Linked DNA regions of Homo sapiens: all the other regions are linked to region 2. The links are contacts of gene promoters, found by promoter capture Hi-C in human tissues and cell types (Jung and others, 2019). All regions are on one chromosome and are shown on one strand. The core of a region is centred on a gene start or on the middle of the fragment in contact, and the rest is flanking DNA. Distances in the headings are between cores, read along the strand shown.

Region 1 (4,912 bases), core at 477-2,976, 460 kb after region 2:
ATTTTCACAAGTGAGAAATGCAGAGACGATGGTGATAGGGAAGCTCCAGCCTGGGCCACACAGCAGCGTCAGTGCCTGCAGGACAGCAGCTGGCACTGGTGGTGGTGAAGGCAGCGAGGCTGGTCCGAAGAAACAGAAGGAGCAGCAGATACTTTTGAACCTCATGTTAATACTCTAACAAAATCTCTTTTACTTCATTTATTACAAATTGGCAAAGGAAAAAGAAACCATGTTAACCAAACAAACAAAAACAATAAAAAGTTAAAAATAACAGAGCAGAAAGCATGACTGCAGAGTGCCAATGGTCATTGTTCTCTTTAGCTTGTGCTACTTAAGAAAGCTTCATCTGCTTTTTACTTTTTTGTTTTCCAGATTTTCTGTGATCACTTTCTTTCTCTTCATCCTCATGTATTTAATTTTTGTACTGATTTATTTATTAATCTGTGTTTTAAAAAATCATATCATGTTTCAATGTCGTGAGGTTCTATTAAGCTTAGATTGTAAATATTATATTCTAGAGAATTTACTGAGTCAGAAGAGAGATGAATAAAGCCAAGTTCATCAGTCGAAGCTTCAGGGACATTTAGATAAATAAACATAATCATTGCATTGACAATAGTTAAACACCATCTGGTGAGGATCAGTTCCTGAAATGGAAAAGCTGGGAGCCAAGTGAGTAAAGTGGGAGAGAGACTCCTTCTGGTCAGGGAAAACATAGAACTTGGGTTCAGCGTGGGAGTACTGCATTTTTAAATTTCTGTCTTAGCATCTATGGTTAGCGAAACCGTCCCCCTGCTCCCTAATAGAGAAGTCACTTTGAAGGTAGGTGGTGGCAATGTGGAGCTCTGACAGATAAGAGACCTCTAGAAATCAAATCCTTCATTACTGCTTCCCAATGAATCTGAAGTCATTGGAAATAGCAGAAAAATTATGTAAGTGCTGTGACATCTTACTCAGAGTTAATGGGGTTTCTCGTATACCTGCTATGTGCCAGGCATGGTGCTGGAGGCCATAAAGTCATGTGACCTTGAAGGACTTTTGGCTCCTACCATCAAGTTTTGGAAGAAGTTGAAAGGAGTCTTTGATAAAACTTGGTGAAACTCCAAAGTTAAATTAAGCAACAATTGATAAGAACTGGGGACCCATTTCTGCCTTGGCTCACATGATTACTTGCTCTTTCCTATTTCTCCTCCTTCTTTCTGGCCCTGATAATCCTGACAGTCCCCATTCCTGGTTTGGGCAGTGCCACCCGGCACAGAGTAAGAACTGGGCTGTCCAACCATGGACCCAAAGGGAGTCACAGCCAGACCTCAGAGGATTCTCAGCTTTCAAACCTATAGACCTGGATGCCAGGCCTCATTCTTTCACTTTCCATCTCTGTGACTATATTCATCAAAGCTTTCCCAGGAAATGGAACCAATAGGATTATCTATCTATCTATCTATCTATCTATTCATCTATCTATCTATCCCTCCATCTATCTTTCATCTATCATTACCTAAAGAGATTTATTATAAGAAATTGACTTATGAGATTATGGAGGTTGAGAAGTCCAAGATCTGCAGTTGACAAGCTAGAAACCCAGGAGAGCTGATAATGCGATTCCAGTCCAAGTCTGAAGCCCTGAGAAGCAGGAGAGTTGATGGCATAACTTCCAGTCAAAGTTTGAAGGCAGGAGAAGAGCCCTGTTCCAGCTCAAAGACACTCACAGAGAGAGAGAGAGTTCTCCCTTCCTCAGCTCTTTTGTTCCAATCAGGCCCTCAACAGATTCAATGAGCCCCACACACATTGAGGAGGGCACTGTGCTTTACTCAGTTCACCAATTCACATGTCAATTGCATCCAGAACCATCCTCACAGACACACCCAGAATAACGTGTGACCAAATATCTGGGTACCCTGTGGTCTAGACAAGTTGACATGTTTTGATGTGACCTTGGGCAAGTTGCTTAATCTCAGAGCACCTCAATCACACATTTGTAAAAATGGGACTAATTCCTCACTGGGCTAATAGGTTTAAATTGTAGGCAACATCTTTGGCACAGTGTCCGTTCAGTGGGAAGGACTTAATGATCAGCAGGTATCAATCATGTCCACAACAGTTATCATACCCCAGGAACTTTGTAGGTGTCAAGCTCTATGACACCAACGCTTTAGACATATTATCTCACTTAATGCTCACATCAACCCTATGAGGTGTTTTTATCCCCATTTTATAGTTGAGTAAACTGAGGCTCAGTGAGTTATACCTTGTCCCTTGGTCACACCAATAAGTAGGCCATAAAGCTAGTATTTGAACCAGATGTTCTAACCCCAGAGCAAGCTCATAGCTGTTACACTGTGTTTCCTCAAGCTAGAGGCCACACGAATTACATAAAAGTTAATTAGCCCACCATCATTACTTATTTTAATTTGTAGCATTACAATAGTATTATTCTCTACCATTTTTTATTATAAATACAAAGTATTCCAGCTATGTTATGTGGTAAGTAGGTTTTTATAAGGTAGCCTGGAAGCCTAACTGCCATTTATAATACCATTTCTGAAAATGTGATCTGAATTTTAAACAACCAACCTAAAAATGAGCTTTGAATAGTGACATGTTTTCAAGTTGGGGCCCATTTGCTGAAATCAGCAAAACGGGGTAATGCTGGTTCAAGTTGTTTCATTACAGGTTTCTTTAAACATTGTTGAAGGTTGTTCTATGAAAAGCTATGCTAGTGTCTCTCACAGCACTCCATATTATTGGACTAGGTAGCCCCAGGACACAAAAATCAAAAGTATTCCCCTGAGTACTCATCCAAGTCAGCAGGCAACTGAATTGTAGGCAAACTCTGAAGTAGGGGGAAATAAGGACAGATTTGCAAGTTCTAGCTTAGAAATTCAAGAGACTTTCAGGCACCCCACCATGCAGGCATCCCCAGTGCTCTGTCCCTGCAGAGGCAAGGGCTCCCACTTGCCCTGCCCACTTAGAGCAGCTTCACAAGCACTCGAACACTGGAAACAGAAGGGCCTCAGTTTGGCTCACAATTAGCAACTTACTAGCTGTGCAACCTTGGCTTTCTAATTAAAATAACATCTCTAACCCTCATTTTTTTTCCATCTGTAAAATAAGTCTAATCATAACTATTTGTAGGATTGCTGTGGGATTACATAAAAGCTTTTATATATAGTTCCTGGCAACTGCGTACACCTTCAGTATAGAGCCATTCTTCACAACTTCTCTTATCTTTTCTGCTATAATTTCTGGGCAGGTTGAAGGTAGAGATAACAGTGATTGTTACCCATGGCCTGAGTATAGACAGCCAAGAAAGTGGTGGAGGAAGGAAGGAGGCTGGGAAGTGTTGCCCATACTTTTGGCCATGAGAAACCCAACAAAGCTCTGCCAAATGTGGGGTTCCCATTAGTGAGGCTTTCTAGGTTCAGGTTTCATTTTTTAATTTCTGCCCTGAAGACATGCTGATGGGAAACAGAAATACCTTTATTCCACCTGGATTTCAGGCAGCTTGTTCTTAGGCTGCTGCAGGCACCGGGCCCTTCCTGGAAGAGGCAAGGAGGCCAGGCCCAGGTGGGAAGGCCAGACAGTTCAGTAGGGTCACTGCACCTCTCTCCTTCCTTGTCTTTGCCAACTTTGAAGAAAGCCTATTTGAGCTAACATTTATCCTAAATGCACTTTCTGAAAAACTAATGCAAATCTAATAGGTAAGATCTTTATTCCAAGGAGCAAATGCTTCCAAATTATACCCCTATTAAAAAATACAATTTAAAAACCACATGGCAATAACAAAAAACTGAAGGGTCCATAAATTAGGAAAGAGTCATACCCTTGTGCAAAATAAAACTCTGGTCTATAAGACACTTCAATCCAACCAGAAATTCTGTTTGCCCCTGGGTTTTACATATCCTCAGTTCGCTCATCAGTACAATTTGAGAACTTAGAAATAAAAATAATAGAGATACTTTAGTACTCAATTAGTCATTCTGCCTACTGAAAACAAGGATTAAAGCCTCTATTAATTAAGTCACAGTCAACAACAAAACCTTCTGTTGTGTTTTGTTCATTTGACACATATTTAGGTCATATTTCTATACTCTCTTTCTTCCTCATGGACTATATCGTGTTCTCAGAAATAATTTAAAAATATTAATGACAGAAAGTAATATGAAATCCCTAGTCTACAATTTTATTTTCATTTCTTTTAACCTACTATATCTTCTGCCTTTGGCTTGGAAGCCCCTTATTTTTTTTTCCTAGCATGTTATGTCATGTTTTTATAGCATGGCTGTGCTAATGACTAGTATTGAAAAATTCTGAAATGAAGGTAATTAGTCTCAGAGAGGTTAAATTACCCAAAACCACCCATCTATTGAGTGACAGTGTCAGGATTCAACTTCTTGTCCTTTGACCCCAAATCCCATATAATTTCCAATATAAATAAACTGTCAGGATATTTCCAATGTATCTGGATACTGAAAAACAGGTGTTAGATCTATTTTGTTGGGCTCTTATGAGAAAATAATTTTGGTAACTCCAAAATTTACTGAGAATTATTTCAGTCTTACTAATACATTAACTCATGATTATTCCCAAGTTGATTGAGGCATGAGTTCTATATGTATAAAAAAGACTCTGGGGCCAGAACAGGATGTCTGGGAAGCCAGAGCCTCTTGGTACAATCATGAAACAACCTAGAGTTCCTTCCTCAGTGCAGACTGTTTTGGCTCTAGAGTCTTTCTGCACAGATAGAAATCATGCCTCAATGACCTTGAGACTAATCATAAAGCTACTTTAGTATATGGGCATGATGACTCCAAATTGGTACCACTGACTTCATGTTAAAGAGTTGTTAAGACTCCAGTAAGCACATTTTTGAGATAAATAATTTAGACAAGGGAAAGTAAGCTTGTACCAA
Region 2 (4,453 bases), core at 1,778-4,277:
TGGTTTTTCTTAGTACATTACTGTCTCCATGTAAGTGAGTGCATGCAACAATGATCATTAAATTGTTTCTTTTCATAAGCTCCCAAACTCTATCCTCAAAAAATGGAGGGGGAGAAGAGGTCTCAGTAAGCAGGATACCTTACATAGGAGGAAGGACCTCTAAATGGCTAAGCACAGAGGAAGTCTGAAATGCTTACAGCATGCAGGTAATTAAGGAAACTTCACTGGCCAAGAAACAAAGGAAAGTCCAACTTTTAGGCTTGCACATCGAATTGATAAATTAACAATTCTTTCATTAAATAATTAATGAAATAACTCTACAGAGCCATTTTTCATCAGTATTGAATTTTCTCATTTCTGTCTATGGTCCTTTGCAAATTAGATATACAATAGAAATGTGTTTATATCAAGGTTCAGTCAAGGAACACAAGCATGTTAAAGGCACTGGGAATTGGTAGGCATCTGAGTTGGACCTACCAGCCTACTAACAATAATACAATCTATATCTTTAAAGTGTTTCTGCTTGTGTGAAATTTCACTAGACACCTCTCACATTGGACTCATTCATGCATCTTAAACCAAAGCTTCCCTAGGCTGACTTTAAGAATTGCATACCCTGAAAGGATCTCCCCTTAGGCGGGGAGTTTCTAATTAAATAGCTTTTAGTATAAAATAAACTCTCTACTCTGTATAAGCATGCTATTACAACTAATTTAAATGTTATTTCATGTTTGTTTTAGGTTTGAATATAGTTTAACTGGCCAAAGTGTTTGTGTACCAGGTCGTTAAGACCAATATTTCCTAACATAAACAAATTCTTCAGATACTTCACAGAGTTTACATTGTTAAAACCAGTCCCGGCAGCTTTAATATATCCCCTCAACTGAAATACTGTTCTGCTTTAGAAAAATTAAGAGATTTTGAGGCTATTTCACTATTTTAAAACATAGCATTTTCCTCCTTCAAAAGAATCTTGACACATGTAATTAAGAAACTGTCAGACTACTATTAATTTTTAATCTAAAACCTAAATGAAATAATTACAGGAATCAATCAATAAGGCACCTATTCAAAATTACCGAGCAATTACATAAATACTCAAAATTAATACTTTAGGTCAATTCTTGTAGATTTCGGTCTATAATATGCTAAGACATCAAACAACACAAAAAGTGTAGCATGGGGAGGATGAATGGTTCCTGCCTTAAATAGACTGAAAAGAGCTCATTTCAGACGGCCAGGGTGCAGGCCCCCCACCCGCCATGCCCAATGCGCTCAAGCTGAAACTCTTTTATTTTTAAAAGTTAATTTATTTCCACCAGACACATATTTCAGGGATCTAAAAAAACGGCCTCATCCAAATTCTGTACAAAAATCACATTTAAGAGGGAAAGGCCTAATTACTCGAATTTTCAGCAAAGTGTATATACTGTGCTCTGGAAAGCCTAACTGGAGAGAAGAGGGAGGAGAGGAAAAGGGGAGCAGGAGGTATTTTTTAGAACTAATAATACCAGCCCGGCTAATGGCACTGCCATGTATTTGCACAGCGGCCGGCCCTCCATACCTTTGACTAAAGGGTTCTTTGACTTGGAGACGCAGACAGTCCATCATTTCAAACTGAAGTGGCAGCTGGAAAATGTGGAACAGCTGGCAAAGAGCTGGGAGAAAATGTTTTACATAAATATATGTACATATAAACTGGCAGAGGGCCATGAGCACTGTACCCAAGGCCAGAATCTACCCGGCAGTCTGCACTGGGGAGATGAGAAGTTGGGGCAGGATGACCAGCGGCGGAGGGAGCCTCCTTAATCCTCTTTCCACGCGGGGTCAGGCAGGGAAGCCTGGGGTGCAGCGCCTCTCGGGGGACGGCATCTTACAGAAGGAGGTGCAATGGGGGACAGGAGCACAAAGTTCAGGAAAGGATAAAAGGCCGGGTGCGGGGTGGAGCGTCCGCTTCGGACAATCTGCTTAAAAGTCGCTTCACAAACTCTGCAAGTTTGGGATCAATATTTACACCCTCTCTGCCTTCTCCCGCCCGTTTTCCCGCTGCTACTCAAGAAAGTAACTGTCCCCTGCTGCTCTGTGTAAACGCGGCACCTTAAATGATTATTGCATGGACCACGGTTACTTTGTGTGTCTGTGCGCGCTGCCCCTGGAAAGGAAAAGAAATAAGAGAATCCCAAATCATATACAGATGGTACAACTTTCACTTTTCCTCTATGACGACGAAGGCGCGCCTCTCTCCATCCGCTCACACCACACCCCCGCCCTCCGAAGCATAGCCCGGGCTGGAGAAGCCCCAGCGGCGGCGGCCCCCGCGGCGGAGGTCCCCGCGCGCACCCACCATGCCTCCCGCCTCCTTCCGCCCATCCCGAGCGCCGTGCGCGCCCGAAGCCCGAGCCGTAGAGCGCCACCGCGCAAAGGAAGGAGCCAGGCGCGTGCGGGGCTCGCGGAGTTCTTCTGAACCCTTTGGATGGGGGCGGAGGCGAGGGGCGCCGCCACCACTGCGGCAAACTTCGTCCCCCCTCCGGGAGGTGAAATTCTCCAATCCGTCTCCGGCCGGTCCGCGGGTCGGACTCTTCGGAAAGGACCTTCCAGGAGGAGGGAGCGAATGCAAGCCTTGCTCGGACGCCTCACCGGCGGCTCTCTAAATCTGGGCGCCTTTTGACAGCCATTTTCACTCCATCCCGTCCCCACGCTGGGGACCACCTCTGGCCCCGGAGGCGCGGGCGCGGCCGCAGGAGCGGGCTGCGGGGTCCGCGAAACAAAGAACTTCGAGCGGGACGTACCTGCGGCGGCAGCGGCTGTCAAGTCCCCGAACTTCCCATAGACCCGCGGACGGGGCGCAGGCTGGCGGCTCCCCGCTCCGCGCGGCCGCGGGCGGCTACGGCTACCGCGAGCGGCCGGGCTGGGCGCGGGGTGCGCCCGCCGCGGGCATGGTGCGGCGCGGGCGGCCGCGGGGCGCGCGGGGAAGGCGGGAGAGCGGCGCGGGTGAGTGGGAGCGGCGGGTGTGCGCGAGTGCGAGTGTGCGAGCGCGCCGGTGGCGCTGCCCCTGCCCGCTCCCTCCCGCTCGTGCAGCTCCGGCATCAGTTTCGGGGATCGTGTAATCCGATCCCTTCTGACTCACAAGCCCTGAGTGACAGTTCTGATTTGGTTCAACCGCGGGAGGGAGGGGAAAGAGAAAGAAAGAAACCCCCAGCCGTACGCCTCTCCTGGCATCCAATCGACTTTCTGGAAAAAGGTCCCATCCCGGCCTGGTGCCCCGTGCTGGGTGGAGAAGCCCCCCGCCCCGACCTGGCACCGCCTGCACTACTCACGGGGTGGAAAAGTTGTCCCTCGGCTCCGCGCTCCCCTCCCGCGCGCTCCCTCCTTCCCTTCTCTCCTCCTCTTCCTCCTCCTCCCCGCGCTCCTCCTCCCCCAAGTTTTAACAGATGTTGCCGGACTCTCCTCGCTCCCTCGCACTCTCTCTTCCTCCGCCCCGGCCCCCGCCCAGTCCCTTTTCTTTCAGCCACTCTCGGGCTCGGAGGGGACGCGCTGAGCAGCAGGACGCCTGCCGCCGCAGGGGGCGAAGTTGGGAAAACTTGGAGTGCTGCTCGCCTTACTTTTGCTTTCTCGCTCCTTCCAGGCCGCGCCGGGAGCCCCCGCTTCTCCCGCCCGCCGGGTCCCCAAGCCCGGAGTGGGTCCCAGCTGCGAGGCGGGCGGCGGCGGCTGGGAGGCGGCGCGTCGCGGGCCGGGGTCGGGGGCTGGGGGGGAGCCCGGGCGCCGCGAGCCACGCGCGCGCTCCCTCCCCGCCCTCCGCCGCCGCCGCCGCCGCCGCCGCCGCCTCCTCCTCCTCCTCCTCCTTCTCCTCCTCCTCCTCCTCCTCCGCCCCTCCCCGGTCTTCACACAGACACATTCATGCCTGCTCCTCCTCTTCCCCCTACTTGACCCCGCGCCCTCCCGGCGCGCCGAAGCCCCACCCACCCGGCGAGGGGAAGGGGGCCCGGGCGTGATGTCACCCGCGCCCTCTCTCTTCTCTCTCCACACCGCCAGGACACCCCCCAAATGCGCGCCCTGGCACTCGTGCTGCGTCCTGTCTGCTCCCATCTTCTCCCACCCAGCCTCTCTTTCTCACTCTTGCTCAAGGGCTGGACTCCCCTTTATTCTTTTAAGGCTTCTCTGATTACCACCGCCCCCCATCCTTGGCTCCCCATCTCCTTGTTTTACATTTTCCCAAAGCCATCCCCGAAACTCCCTCTCGCGGGATGATGCCTTTGGAAGTTCAGGGTTTTTCTCTCCACCGGACTCGTCTGCCCTCGGGGCCAAATCCGCGAAGCGAGGAGGAGCTCCCACCACACAGCCTGCTGTCCCTATGGGCCACTTTATAAAAGACACAAAAACAAAGACCCCAGGCTTGGAGCCTGGTCTCTAACGTGCCGCTTTTCCTTGAGCTACAAAGTGTCTCTGTCCCTGC
Region 3 (4,581 bases), core at 1,541-4,040, 330 kb after region 2:
TGGTGTGGATGTGGGGAAAAGGAACACTTTTACACCGTTGATGGGAATGTAAACTAGTACAACCACTGTGGACAACAGTGTGGAAATTCCTTAAAGAACTAAAAGTATTAATAAATCTACCATTTGATCCAGCAATCCCACTCCTGGGTTATCTATCCAGTGGAAAAGAAGTCATTATACAAAAAAGATACTTGCACACACATGTTTATGGCAGCACAATTCACAATTGCAAAAATATGGAACCAGCCCAAATGCCCACCAATCAACAAGTGGATAAAGAAAATGTGCCATATATATATATATGTACACTATGAAATAGTACTCAGCCAAAAAAAAGAGCAAAATAATGGCATTTGCAGCAACCTGGATGGAATTGGAGACCATTATTCTAAGTGAACTCAGGATGAGAAAATCAAACATCGTATGTTCTCACTCATAACTGGGAGCTAAGCTATGAGGACGGGCAGGCATAAGAATGATACAATGAACTTTTGGGACTCAGGGGAAAGGATGGGAGGGAGATGAGGGATAAAAGACTACACATTGTGTACAGTGTCCACTGCTCAGGAGATGGGTGCACCAAAATCTCAGAAATCACCACTAAAGAACTTATTCATGTAACCAAACACCACCTGTTCCCCAAAAATCTATTGAAATTTTAAAAAAAGAAAATGCAGTACATATATTCTATGGAATGCTACTCAGCCATAAAAAGGAACAAAATAATGGCATTCACAGCAATCTGGATGGAGTTGGAGGCCATTATTCTAAGTGAAGTATCTCAGGAATGGAAAACCAAACATTGTATGTTCTCACTTGGGAGCTAAGCTATGAGAACATAAAGAATGATACAACGAATTTTGGGGACCCGGAGGAAAAGGTGGGAAGGTGGTAAGGGATAAAAGCCTACACATTGGGTGCAGTGTGCACTGCTCGGGTCACGGGTGCACCAAAATCTCAGAAATCACCACTAAAGAACTTACACATTTAACCAAATACTACCTATTTCCCAAAAACCTATTGAAATAAAAGAAAAACAAACAAACAAACAAATAAATAAATAAATAAATAATAGATTTGTATGTGGTGTGAGATAGGGACTGAAGTTCATCTTCTCCATGTGGACATCTAATTGCCTCAGAACGTTTCATTGGAAACACTTTCTTTCCCTTATTGAGTTTCTTTGGCACATTGTCAAATAAGTGTGGCCACAAAGTATAGGTATATTTCCATACTCTATTCTGTTTATGTAGTATAAATACTCCAATATTTTTTCTTTTTCAAAATTATTTTGACTATACTAGATCCTTTGCATTTCCATACATATTTTATGTATTTTATGAATTTCCATTCGAAAAGCCTACTGATATTTTGATTGGTATGTTTTTCAATCTATTTATCAATTTTGGGCAATGAGTATATTCAGTTTACCATTTCACACAGTATATGTGCATAGTTATTTAAATGTTCATGTCTGATAAATCAAATATCATTTATCAAAATCAAATTTCCTACTGATTTATTTCTATTGTATGTTTTTCTGCTGTGCTTTGATTAATTATTATCTTCTTTTTTTTTTTTTTTTTTTTTTTTTTTTTTTTTTTTTTTGAGACGGAGTCTTGCTCTGTCGCCCAGGCCGGACTGCGGACTGCAGTGGCGCAATCTCGGCTCACTGCAAGCTCTCTGCTTCCCGGGTTCACGCCATTCTCCTGCCTCAGCCTCCCGAGTAGCTGGGATTACAGGCGCCCGCCACCGCGCCCGGCTAATTTTTTGTATTTTTAGTAGAGACGGGGTTTCACCTTGTTAGCCAGGATGGTCTCGATCTCCTGACCTCATGATCCACCCGCCTCGGCCTCCCAAAGTGCTGGGATTACAGGCGTGAGCCACCGCGCCCGGCCAATTATTATCTTCTTGTATGCCTGATTATTTTTGTTTGTGTATAGACATTGTGTTGTAGAAAATAGAATGGAGTTTTAAGGTGTTATATGATGTTCCATTAAGAATAATAGGATTTACTTTTGCTTCAGGTAGACAACTAAACTAGAGTCACATTATATTAATCTATTAGAAACTTAGAAGACTCAAATTTGGTTTCAGTCCTTGTGAGGACTCTTCTTTCCATTTTACCATTACTTCTAAGATGTAGCCTTTAGGATAGTAAGTGAAAAGCTGGCATTTTTACCAGGGTCTTTCTTTCCTGGTCTCTAAACTGCAACTTTTGTCTTTCTACCTCATTGTATTTGCCAAAGACCTGCTCAGCCTCTTGGCCATTCACATACAGCTTTTCATTCTGAAATTGGCAATCACTTGATTTCCCTTTTCTTTCAAATCTTGATCTTGAAACTATCATTACCTTGACAGATTTCTGATACTTTCAAGCAGATTTTTTAAAGTATTTTGTCCGTTTTTCGACTTGTATTCTGCCTGATTGTTGATCTGAAACAACCTACACTGCTATCACTTTCAGTGGAATTCCTCTTTGGGGGTATTTAGTAGGCATTTTGGAGAAGCTTTGTCATGGGCTACCATGAGGGTCAATTTTAAACTTGAAGTTTAGGACATGATTTTTGAAGGAGAAACCTTAGAACTTTTTCTTCTAACCTGTTAATTTCATAAATGTTAATTAGAGTAAGAATGGAAAATATTCCAAACTATTACATATATTAAGAAAATGCCGTTAGATTCTTCCTAGCAATCTTTAAACCTAAGGAATATATTTATTTCTATTCTCAGGGATGCTTTTGTATTTTCTTACTGTAATAGTAAGTTGCAGTGTTGACAGGATGAGTAGATGGTATCTCTCAGAGACTCTTAATCTTCTTTCAGATCAATTTCATTAACTTTCCTCAGGTAAAGCAGGACAAAAACCAGATATTTTTAGCAATGACTGGCTAATAGGTTCATTTATTAAAAATTTTACCAAATATCTAGTGAATGCTCTTGTTATTCCAAACCTGTTGTTGCTACTGCATAAGATTTGTTTTTCCTTAAAAGTTTCTAACCTAAAATGCCTCTCCATTTTTTGATGTTCTGTATTGCTTTAGGTGGGACCCTTTTTTTTTTCTTACTTACAGACTCATGAAACCTAATCTCTGACACTCACCACTTGGCTTTTGGCCTAATCAAGGTCCTTTTACTTCAAACTAGTTATTTCATCCTTGTAATTAGTAGAAATTTACCGCATATTCTGGCAATGGGCTGTTTGTAAGTTCTAATGTTCTCTGTTGTTATGAATGTTTATGTTTTTCTGGGCCTTTAATAGGTAATTTAGTAGAAACAGGAAGAAGCTGTTTTTTAAAAATATATATCTTTAATCAATATTGATGATATAAAAATGAAAGAAGATGATTAGATTAAAATAAATAACCAACTGTGGCCCAAATTATAGCATATTTTAGTCTGAAAATGCCAGGCTTTTCCAATGAACATTTTCAGGCAATAAGTGACTTGCCCCAAGTCATAAATTAAATAGACAATTATCTCCATTTGTTTAGGAAAAAATGGTCACTGCCGGAGAGCAAATAGCTTGCTATTTTCTAGGTTGCGGTGAAGTGGACTACACTGCCCTCTTTAAAATAATATGCTGCAGAGATCCACCTCTGGGGTTGAACAACAAATCCATCTTTAAAGGTCGAATGCCACACTCAGGATATGTTCTATGATCTTCCTAAGGCAATGCTGCCTTAGAAACTAAGTAAAGTTCTGTTGCCTTTAAAGTATAAATAGAGGCTCAAGATTCTGTAAACAGAAGATGAATAAACCAGCTAGGGAAAAAAAGAAAGCTTGCCAAATAACAACACTAGGCCAACTCCGAGAGAGCAAAGCCCTTGCTGGTATTTATCCACACCCGTTCTGTGTGTCACTTCCTTTGTCATCAACAACAGGATGACTTTTCTAAATCCCATTGTAATGAGTAGTTGAAAAACGCAGGCATTTCTTAGTAAATAAATATTTCATATTTAAGGGGTTTCTCAGTGGGGCACTTCCAATCTGTAACAAATGACTTACGGCAAATTCTAATGATGTTTCTTGCCATGGCAAGAATCATTTAGAGAGAGGGCCAATATATATGTCCAGGGTTACAATGCCATGGGGTATAAAGTCTGGAAGCTGAACTGTGGCCACTGGATCTAAAGCAGGTACCTCACTAACCACGCTTGGAACATTTTCTTGGGGATGGGTTCAAAAACTTCCTAATGATCAGAACCACAAATTAGAATAGGACTAAGCATAGGTGGCTTTCTCTAAGATTTAATATGTCTCCTAAATGTCCAGAATGATGCCTAAAATTAACTTATTGATCAATATTTTGATTAAGACACTGAGGGAACCTCTCAAAATGCAAATATTTTCTGGGAGAAGATATTAAATAATGCTGAGCATTAATAATCTAATGAAATGACTTTTCAGAGATCAGATAATGATTCATTTAGCAGAGCCCTGAGGAAATGAGAAATAAACATGTAGTTTAGGTAAGAGAGAAGGGTTGCACAAATTCTGGAGTGCTAATGCTATAAGCAAGGATTTCTACTTGATATAGAATTAATTTACTTACTGATGTGTCTTTGGTAAATTGTTCCA

The links. The method cuts DNA at HindIII sites, captures the fragments that hold promoters and counts their contacts. A contact is called where the count stands out against the background at its distance.
Region 1: a fragment that was not itself captured here is called in contact with the fragment with the promoter of GLI3 in region 2 in 1 of the 25 tissues and cell types used here (heart left ventricle).
Region 3: a contact is called between a fragment that was not itself captured here and the fragment with the promoter of GLI3 in region 2, in 1 of the 25 tissues and cell types used here (mesenchymal stem cells).

The regions. Positions count from the first base shown.
Region 1 is chr7:42,699,914-42,704,825 of GRCh38, forward strand. The region is part of intron 1 of LINC01448 (long intergenic non-protein coding RNA 1448); the gene reads right to left. Among named protein-coding and RNA genes, the nearest start is that of LINC01448, 4.1 kb to the right of the region's middle. The HindIII fragment of the contact is 4,607 bases long and covers 1-4,030 here.
Region 2 is chr7:42,234,182-42,238,634 of GRCh38, forward strand. It overlaps GLI3 (GLI family zinc finger 3), which reads right to left and starts at 3,028. Exons shown (of 15, transcript NM_000168.6): 1 at 2,790-3,028. RefSeq lists an enhancer at 2,772-3,753. The HindIII fragment of the contact is 7,383 bases long and covers 1-4,453 here.
Region 3 is chr7:42,563,468-42,568,048 of GRCh38, forward strand. No RefSeq gene overlaps it. Among named protein-coding and RNA genes, the nearest start is that of LINC01448, 140 kb to the right of the region's middle. The HindIII fragment of the contact is 3,800 bases long and covers 891-4,581 here.